Regions from separate parts of the Homo sapiens genome. Here region 2 is linked to region 1. Evidence: promoter capture Hi-C in 16 types of primary human blood cells and fetal thymus (Javierre and others, 2016). All regions are on one chromosome and are shown on one strand. The core of a region is centred on a gene start or on the middle of the fragment in contact, and the rest is flanking DNA. Distances in the headings are between cores, read along the strand shown.

Region 1 (5,198 bases), core at 176-2,675:
GGAGGCGGGCGCTATTACGGGCCCCAGTTTGCAGTCGAAGAAACTGGCTCAGAACGTGAAGGGTCCATGGTCACTGAGAGTGGGCGGCGGCGCCAGGAGTCCGCCCTGGATCTGCCCGACTCCTTCCACTGTGCCAGTTTGCCCTTGCGCGGTCGCGGTGGGGAATAGATGGAGACGTGGACAGCTCAAATAAATCACAGATGGAATGTAAGGTTGTGCCTAGCAGGCTGCCGGCCCTCAGTGAGCGGTGGCTCGGGTTGTTGTTCTTACGTGAACGACAGGCAGAGACAGCGCCTCCTCCTCTCCCCATGGTGCGGGAAAACCCGACGGGAAAGTGGGGGAGGCGCAGAGAAAGGAGGTGTAGGGAGGTGAAGCGGGTACTATCTTCCCACTCGGAGCGCCCCTTCGGCAGCACAGCTGCCCGGTCCTCCCTCTGCTAAGCCCTGACTGCTGCAGGGGAGCAGGAGGAGCCGGCACCTCCCAGAAAGCAGACCCTCTCTCTGGATCCCGTTTGCCTGCAATTCAATGCCCCTGGGTGGGTGTGAGGTTTCAGGGAGGTCACAAGTCATATCAAGATGAGGCGAGCTCACAGCTGGAGAGTCTCCATCCTGCTGCCCATCTCTGAACAGATCAGAGATCTTAAAAGGCGGCCCTTTTAAGAGGCCAGCTCGGACCCAGGCAGGGGTCCCGGTGCCCACGACCTCCCCAGGCCGCGAAGTGCCAGGCTGGCGCCCCGCAGGCGAGCTCGAAACCACACCCAGCACCCGACCGGGCCCAGTCTCTGCCCTACCCGCGCGCCCGCAGCCCCCGGCGGCCCTCGGAAGGGAGACGTGGGTAGGCGGGCAGGGCCGAGAGGCCGCCTCGGGGCGACAGCGGCGTCTGGTTGGAGCCGGCGCCCCCTGGGAGGCGGCGGGGGCGGAGGCTGCGCAGCGGGTGAATGAGCACCATTGTATGCCCCGCCACCTGGGCTCCCCGGGCTGCCAGGACCGGGCGCCAGCTCCTGCCCCACGCTGCCTGTCCCGGGCCGGGCCGCGCGTCTGGGGACGGGTCCCGTTTGACTCTCCGGCTCAGCCACCTCCATTCACGGTGCCGCGATGGGCACCATGTATGCACCCACCGAGGGGACCTGCCCGCGGCGCTGTCCTCAGGTGGCCTCTCGGGCTAGGGGTGTCAGTAGGCGCGGGACACAGGCAGAGCTCCTCCATCCCGGACTCCAGACCCCGCACCCTGGACCCTGGCAGCGGAGGGGCTGCGAAACTTACAATCTGCGCCAGAGCGAGCACTACCACCTGGAGGAGAACAAGGAGGCTGCGGGGGGAGGCCGTAGCGGCGGCCATGGCTGGCGGCGAGACCAAGGGGGACGGGTGCGTGTCCGCGCACGCACCGACGGCAGAGTCTCCCGGCGCTCCTCCAGCGCTGGCTGTTCGCGGGCAGGGTGGGCTGGGGCTCCTGAATATGCGGGGGGCGGGGCGGGGGCCGGCGTGAGCTGTCACCTGAGAGGACCGGCGGGGTTGCCGGGAGGGAGGCCGGCGCCAGGCATCCAGCTCCGCCCCGCTCGGTCCAGCCTCCTGCGCCCACCCTCTGTCCTCGAGGGGCGACCGGGGTGCGGGTCGGAGATGATGGTCCAGTTTCTTTGTGAGAAGGCATAAGGCCGTCTGAGGTTCCCCTCGGGACCTTCAGGCCCCAGCACCTTCCCCCTGACGCACAGCCTGTGCCCCATCACTTACCCTACGTCCTCTCCAGGGCCCAGGCCGAGAGCACCTCGGGCTCTGCAGATCTTGCTGCAGGCTCTCCCCAGCTCCCGCCCACCTTGCTCCCCTCTCCTCTGGCTCCTTCCTCTCCAAGCACAAACAAACAGGCCTTTTCCATATTAATATGCCACAGTCCTTCCTGGATCAGCCGTCTCATGAATACTCCATCGGCCTCTTCCAGCTCTTTAGTGGAGCTGTGTGCACCTCCCCCACCCCCGAACTTCCTCACCTCGCTTTCACCTCCCTACTCTGTCCCAACAAGCAAATCTGTCTCCTGGAGGTCTGCAGTGAAGCCCAACCCTTCTTCGGTCCTCCAGGCAGGAAGCTGTTGGCATCTTCACCTGCCCTTGAAGTCTTCCCCATCCAAGCTCCTGCCATCCAGCTCCCCTTTTTCTATTGCCTTTAATTCTCTGCAGCTGCCTTAAGCACTGGTGTGTTTAGGATTGGGCCTTCTCACTCCATGTTCATAGAAACAACTACCACTTTATTCACCAGAGTTTCCGAACCCCGCTGTCCAGCATAGCCCGACTCCAGAGAGCCTTCCCTTCCCTCCCACTCACTTAGGCAATATTGGTAAAATGCTTTGGAATCTGACTTTTTCACAATTATAGATATGACCACAGGCACCCCAAACTCTATGAAGTCTCATTTTCCTCATCTGTAAAATGGGGATACTAATAGTCCATATATATATATATATATATTTTTTTTTTAAGACAGAGTCTTAAAAGGCTCTGGAGTGCAGTGGCACGATGTCAGCTAACTGCAACCTCGCCTCGCGGGTTCAAATGATTCCCCTGCCTCAGCCTCTCGAGTAGCTGGAATTACAGGCATGAGCCACAATGCCTGGCTAATTTTTATATTTTTAGTAGAGATGGGGTTTCGCCATGTTGGCCAGACTGCTCTTGAACTCCTGACTTCAGGTGATCTGCCTGCCTCAGCCTCCCAAAGTGTTGGGATTACAGGCATGAGCCACCGTGCCCAGCAAATTGTCCTTATCTTAAAGGGTTTTTGTGGAAATTGAATGAGATGACTCATGCGAGGCATTTAACCTCGAACCAGCACATAGTAGGTGCTTGATACATTTTAGCTTTCCTTATGATTTATGGATGACTGTTTTACTAGGTTGGCATCCAATGTGGGGAAGCTGGCCACAGGCAGATCAGCTAAAATGATGAACCTAGTTGAAGCTAGAAAAGTCCAACTCCATTGGGCAGGTTAGCAAAGGGCTCTGGATTTTGAAAGGTTGTCCTGGAGCTGAGTTTGGGAGAAAGAGCTTGAGAGAATGTAATTGCTCTGCCTAACAGAGTGAAGAAGAATTTGAAGTTTGTTGGAAGATGAGAGCAAGAGGAGGAGGATGTAAGAGAGGGATGGTGGGCATTGCTTGGGGTGGGTGGGGTAAACCTATAAAGGATTTTTAGAACTGGGATGTCCAAATTCAATTTTAAGTTGTTTGTTTCACATCACTTATCTCTCCATCTTTTGTGGGCTAACCACAAGAAAGGCCTTGTGTGAGTAAGTTTTCTTTTTGTGTGTGGAAATTATGGAAAGAGGATGAGTTTCACAGTCTGGACAGCACACATTGATGTATTAATTACCTGTTGCACCATAACAAATCACCCTAACATTCAGCAGCTTAAAATGACAATTTCTTTGGATTAGGAATTTGAGAGTGACTCTGCTGGTTCGGTCTGGCCTGGGGTCTGTTATAAGGTCATAGTCAGATGGTGGCTGGGCCTGATGTCACCTAGAAGGCTTCTTCACTCACATGTCTGATGTCAGTACTGGGAAGCCTTCAACCGCTGGGGCCGGAACAGCTGGAGTTGCTTGGACAGTTCTCTCCTTTATCTCTTTGTGGGCTTTCCATGAAGTTTCTCCAACATGGCAGCTTCAAGGTAGCTGAACATCCTCTATAGCAGCTCAGAGGGAGTAGGAGAGCACCAGACTGAAGAGAATTGCCACTCAGGACCCGTCCTTGGAAGTCATGCAGTGGCACCTTCACCACATTCTTACTGTTGAGGCAATTGCAAAGGTCTGCCCATGATCAAGGGGAGGGAACAGAGACCCCACCTCAAGGATGAATGTTAATGTCACATTTTTTAATTTTTTTTTTGAGATGGAGTCTTGCCCTGTCACCCAGGCTGGAGTGCAGTGGCGCAATCTCAGCTCACTGCAACCTCCGCCTCCTGGATTCAAACGATTCTCCTGCCCCAACCTCTGGAGTAGCTGGGATTACAGGCGTACGCCACCACTCCCGGCTAATTTTTGTCTTTTTAGTAGAGATGAGGTTTCATCATGTTGGTCAGGCTGGTCTCGAACTCCTGACCTCATGATCCGCCCGCCTCGTGATCTGCCCGCTTTGTCTTCCCAAAGTGCTGGGATTACAGGCATGAGCCACCGCGCCCAGCCAGTGTCACATTTTAAGAAGAGAATAAGGGATAAAATTTATTTATTTATGTCTTTCTTTCTTTCTTACTTTTGAGACAAGGTCTCCCTCTGTCACCTAGGCTGAAGTGCAATGGAGGAATCACCACTCACTGTAGCCTCAAGTTCCTGGGCTCCTGATCCTCCCACTTCAGCCTCCTGAGTAGCTGGGACTACAGGCATGCACCGCTGCACCCAGCTAATTTTTTATTTTATTTTATTTTACTTTGAGACAGAGTCTTGCTCTGTTGCCCAGGCTGGAGTGCAGTGGTGTGATCTCGGCTCACTGCAACCTCCATCTCCCGGGTTCAAGCAATTCTCTTACCTCAGCCTCCCGAGTAGCTGGGATTACAGGCGCCTGCCACCATGCCTGGCTAATTTTTGTATTTTTAGTAGAGACAGGGTTTCACCACATTGGCCAGGCTGGTCTCCAACTCCTGACCTCAAGTGATCTGCCCACCTCGGCCTCCCAAAGTGCTAGGATTACAGGCGTGAGCGACTGCACCCAGCCATGCACCCAGCTAATTTTTTATATTTTGTAGACACAGGGTCTTGTCATGTTTCCCAGGTTGTCTTGAACTCCTGGGCTCAAACAATCCTTCTGCCTTGGACTCCCAAAGTGCTGGGATTACAGGTGTGGGCCACTGCACCCAGCCTGGGGATGCAATTTTTATTATTGATGCAACCATCTTTGGAAAATACATCCTGCCACACTTGGGGTTATAAACTGAACCAATCCAGTGGTAGCTGAAGCTTAAAGCTGGAGCCAATCAAGATAAATTTTAGGCCAGGCAAGGTGGCTCACGCCTGTAATCCCAGCACTTTAGGAGGCCGAGGCAGGCAGATCATCTGAGGTCGGGAGTTTGAGACCAGCCTGACTAATATGGAGAAACCCCATCTCTACTAAAAATACAAAATTAGCCGGGCATGGTGGTGCATGCCTGTAATCCCAGCTACTCAGGAAGGCTGAGGCAGGAGAATAGCTTGAACCTGGGAGGTGGAGGTAGCGGTGAGCTGAAAGCA
Region 2 (5,014 bases), core at 1,514-4,013, 35 kb before region 1:
GATGCTTGAATAAGTGGTAGTCAGTTGGCAAGAGGTCAGGTGAATGTGGCAGATCAGGCAAAACTTCATAGCCCAATTTGTTCAACTTTTGAAGGATTGATTTTGCGATGTTCGGTTGGGTGTTGTCTTGGAGAAGAATTGGGCCCTTTCTGTTGCCCAGTGCTGGTTGCAGGCGTTGCAATTTTCTGTGCATCTCATCGATTTGCTGTGCATACTTCTCAGATGTAATGGTTTTGCCAGGATTCAGAAAGCTATAGTGGATCAGACTGGCAGCAGACCACCAAACAGTGACCATGACCTTTTTTTGGTGCAAGTTTGGCTTTGGGAAGTGCTTTGGAGCTTCTTCTGTGTCCACCCACTGAGCTGGTCATCGCCCGTTGTTCTATAAAATCCATGTTTCGTCTCACGTCACAGTCTGATAGAGAAATGGTTTGTTGTGTAAAATAAGAGAAGACGACACTTCAAAACAATGATTTTTTTTAATTTTTATTTTCGCTTAGCTCATGAAGCACCCACTTATCAGGCTTTTTCACCTTTCCAGTTTGCTTCAAATGCCAAACGACCGTAGAATGGTCGACATTGAGTTCTTCGGCAACTTCTTGTGTAGTTGTAAGGGGATCAGCTCCGATGATTGCTCTCCATTGGTCATTGTCAACTTCCGATGGCCTGCCACTACGCTCCTCATCTTCAAGGCTCTCATCTCCTTTGCAAACTTCTTGAACCACCACTGCGCTGTACGTTCGTTAGCAGTTCCTGGGCCAAATGCGTTGTTGATGTTGCGAGTTGTCTCTGCTGCTTTACGACCCATTTTGAACTCAAAGAAGAAAATTGCTTGAATTTGCTTTTTTTTTTTTCTTTCTTTGTGAGACAGAGTCTCCGTCTGTTGCCTAGGCTGGAGTGCAGTGGCGACATCTCTGCTCACTGCAACCTCCGTCTCCTGGGTTCAAGCAGTTCTCATGCCTCAGCCCCACGTGTAGCTGGGATGACAGGTGTGCGCCACCATGCCCGGCTAATTTTTTGTATTTTTGGTAGAGACAGGGTTTCACCATGTTGGCCAGGCTGGTCACGAACTCCTGACTTCAAGTGATCCGCCTGCCTCAGCCTCCCAAAGTGCTGGGATTACAGGCATGAGCCACTGCACCCAGTTGAATTTGCTTTTTGTCTAATATAATTTCCCTTATCTAAAATAAATATAAAATAAACAGCAAGTAATGTCATTAGCAAAAAACATAAAGTGAGAAATGTGCATTAAAATGATGTATAACATAACCATATTTATTTAAGAATGTATTCCAATATCAAACAGCAAATTTCAACAATGCAAAAACCGCAATTACTTTTGCACCAACCTAATACATGCACATTTTTTCTTGACGATAATGGAACCTGATATACGTGAAGTTTTGTATCCTTCACAATATATTGGTGAGCTTTTTCTTGTTAAAATTCTTTGGAAGTATAATTTTTTTCTGGCAGCTTAAAATTCCATTTCATAGTTTTACTATAATTGAATCATTTGTAACTGTTGGATGTTTAGGCTTTACTTATTTACTTACTGCTATAAAGCTGTGATGAGCACATTTATTGGCAAAAAACAGACACTCTCCACTGCTGGTGGTGAATTATGTTGATATGATTTTTCTTCACATATTAAATGATTTGAAAATGTTAATGTCCTTTCCAGTAATTCAATTTCTAGGAGTCTCTCCAAAGGACCCCAAACTTTTTAATTATATTCCATGCTTTGAACTGTCTTTTCCTTAGGATCTAAACGCTCTTCCCACAGCAATGCTTATTTTTATGGCTTCTTCAAGAACAAGCGAATAGTTTTGTTTGACACTCTACTAGAAGAGTACTCTGTACTAAACAAAGACATCCAGGAGGATTCTGGCATGGAACCCCGCAATGAGGAAGAAGGGAACAGTGAAGAAATAAAAGCTAAAGTTAAAGTGAGTTATTTTTTCCTAAGAGATTCTACCTTAGTTTTTATACACAGTTCCTGTGACAACTCAAAATAACATCAATTTCTAGGCAGTGAGTGTTGAATTCAGGGAGACTATCAGATGAAAACCATGGCTCCTTTATAGTTCTGGTATTTAGGAGAGATCACCACTATTATTACATGCTAACTACCTTGCAAGCTTTTATAGAATGTGGATATTAAAATTGGAAGCTCTTATAAGAAAATTCATATGATTATAAGCTATCTTTAAAACAGGAACTTGTGTGTATATATATATATGTGTGTGTATATATATATATAATTTCTTATGTGTTTATGATCAAAGAATTCCCACAAGCAAGATAAAGAGAAGATAAACATCTAATTTTTAGCTTTATTAAGACAGTAATTGTAGGCTTTGGCAATGGAGAGACTTGGATTTGAATCCTGGTTCTGTCATTTAGTAGCTTTGTATCCTTGGATACGTTGTGTAATTTAGTCTGTTTTATTTGTTTAACACCCATTTATGAAATGTATACTCTGTGCTGAGAGACTTTACTTGGCACTAGGTACACAAAAATAAAAAGGAATACCTTCCTCTTAAGCTTACAGTCTAAAGGGGAAATAGTCATGCAATCACAGTACAATACGTGAATTGCTACTGTCAAGCTTTAGATTCTAGATATAGTAACTGGAGCACAAGAAAAGACATTTCTCAAATCTGACATGAGAGTCTGAGAAAGCTGCTTCTGAATCCTTTTCGTGGATAAGATTGACTGATATTGATTAGCAGAATTTAAAGTATCAAGACTAAATGGGGGAGAGGGGACAATGATAAGAAACAATACAAACTGTCAGAAATGATCATCAGTATTTGTATGTGTGATGGAATGTGCCATTGCCTTTGGTGTCATACAGAGATGATTTTAGATGCCTGTTCACTCACTGTCTGTGTAACTCTGTGCAAGTAAGTTAAGCTTTCATTTATTTATGTATTTATTTATTTTGAGATGAGGTCTTGTTATGTTTTCCAGGCTGGTCGAACTGCTGGCCTCAAGTTACCCGCCTGCCTTGGCCTCCCAAAGTGCTGGGATTATAGGCGTGTGCCACCGCACCCCGCCAAGCTTTCTAAATCTTTGATTTCTTAACTGAAAGATGAGGCCAGTAGGGTTTCTCAAGCCCCACGCTATTTTTTTGAGCCAGATAATTTTTTTGTTGTGGGAGGTATCTTGTGCATCACAGGATGTTTAGCAGCATCCCTGGTCTCTCCCCACTAGGGGCCATTTCCCCTACAACCTCTACAAATTGTAACAACAAAAATGTCTCAGAATATTGCCAGATGTCCCCTAAAGGTAGCGGTGGGGCCGAGTCTCCCCTGGTTGAGAAATACTAGGCTAAAGATACCTACATTTTAGGGTTTTGAAGATTAAATGAAATAATATGTGTGAAATACCTTGTACTCTCTACCCAAATGTAGAGAGTACCAGAAAATGATTAGCATCTGAGCATCTGTTTTGACACTAAAAACAGGTTCTAGTAAAGTACCTAGCCTGTTATAAATACGTAGATGAAATAAAATTCTGTGAAGGGATTAGAAGACATCTTAAAGTCATCTTATAAATAGGAAAACTGAAGTCCAGAAAGAATAACCCAGTGATAACACTAGAGAATCATGCAAGTTTAGAAAGTTAATCTGCTTATGGTCAGGCACTGTGGCCCATACCTGTAATCCCAGCACTTTGGAAGGCCAAGACAGGCAGATAACTTGAGGCCAGGAGTTCGAGACCAGCCTGGCCAACATGACGAAACCCCTGTCTCTACAAAAAAATACAAAAATTAGTTGGGCATGATAGCGCACGCCTGTAATCCCAGTACTCAGGAGGCTGAGGCACAAGAGTTGCTTGAACCTGGGAGGTGGAGGTTACAGTGAACTGAGATCCTGCCTCTGCACTCCAGCCTGGGTGACAAAGTGAGACCCTGTCTTAAAAAAAAAAAAAAATTGCTGATCCTTTTGTTACTTTTTTTGTTTTTGTTTTTGTTTGCTTTTCTGGAAGTTTGTTAGATCTTTCTCTGTTTCAGTGTTCTAAAATTTCACATACCTTGATGGGGATCTGTTTTCATCTACCATGTTATATGCATCACACTGTTTTCATCCACTGTAATATATGCATTAGGCCCTTTTATTCTGGAAATCGAGGTCCTATGGTTGTAAGAAATTTTCTGAAATTATTTTGTTGATTTTTCTCCTCTCCATTTTTTAAATTCTGTGTTTTCAGGGCTCCTCTTACTCGAGTGCTGGATTTGTTATACTGAACTCTCCTATCTTTTTAACCCTCTTTTCCATTTTAAATATATCTCTTTCTGCTTTCTAGAATTCCCTCATCATCTTCCAATCCTTTATTGTATTGAACTTTCTTTCTTTTTTTTTTTTTTTTTGAGATGTAGTCTTGCCCTCTCGCCCAGGCTGGAGTGCAGTGGCGCGATCTCAGCTCATTGCAACCTCCTCCCGGGTTCAAGCAATTCTCCTGCCTCAGCCTCCTGAGTAGCTGGGATTACAGGTGTGCACCAGCATGCCCAGCTAATTTTTTTTTTTTTTTTTTTTTTGGTATCTTTAGTAGAGACGGGGTTTCACCATGTTGGCCAGGCTGGTCTCAAACTCCTGACCTCGTGATCCACCTGCCTCAGCCTCCCAGAGTGCTGGCATTACAGGCTTGAGTCACCATGCCTGGCCTTCAGCTTGGATTTCTAATAATTTTTTTATCTGAATTTTCCAATTTACAGCATTTCGTTACTTTTTCTTAGGTGCAATGTCTTAATTTTCTAAACTTTCTCTTTATATAATTTATTTCATGTTGCTTTTTTTGTGGATCAGATCTTCTGTGTTAACAGCTTACCTCATATATCTGGTAAATCCTTGGTTATTTGCTCCTTAGTAAGAGAATGGGACTAGGCCCCACACAGCGGCTCATGCCTGTAATCCCAGCACTTTGGGAGGCCAAGGCAGGTGGATCACCTGCAGTCAGGAGTTCGAGACCAGCCTGACTCACATGGTGAAACCCTGTCTCTACTAAA

Evidence for each region. Contacts are between HindIII fragments. The CHiCAGO score rates a contact against its expected background, and 5 or more counts as called.
Region 2: a fragment that was not itself captured here is called in contact with the fragment with the promoter of COL9A2 in region 1 in 8 of 17 cell types (endothelial precursors, naive B cells, M1 macrophages and 5 more); the score reaches 8.2 in endothelial precursors.

Annotation. Positions count from the first base shown.
Region 1 is chr1:40,315,861-40,321,058 of GRCh38, forward strand. COL9A2 (collagen type IX alpha 2 chain) reads right to left here and starts at 1,426. Exons shown (of 32, transcript NM_001852.4): 1 at 1,263-1,426. The coding sequence starts at 1,337. RefSeq lists enhancers at 284-920, 921-1,557 and a silencer at 601-1,110. The HindIII fragment of the contact is 22,313 bases long and covers 1-4,926 here.
Region 2 is chr1:40,279,579-40,284,592 of GRCh38, forward strand. It overlaps ZMPSTE24 (zinc metallopeptidase STE24), which reads left to right. Exons shown (of 10, transcript NM_005857.5): 7 at 1,765-1,949. Among named protein-coding and RNA genes, the nearest start is that of ZMPSTE24, 24 kb to the left of the region's middle. The HindIII fragment of the contact is 308 bases long and covers 2,610-2,917 here.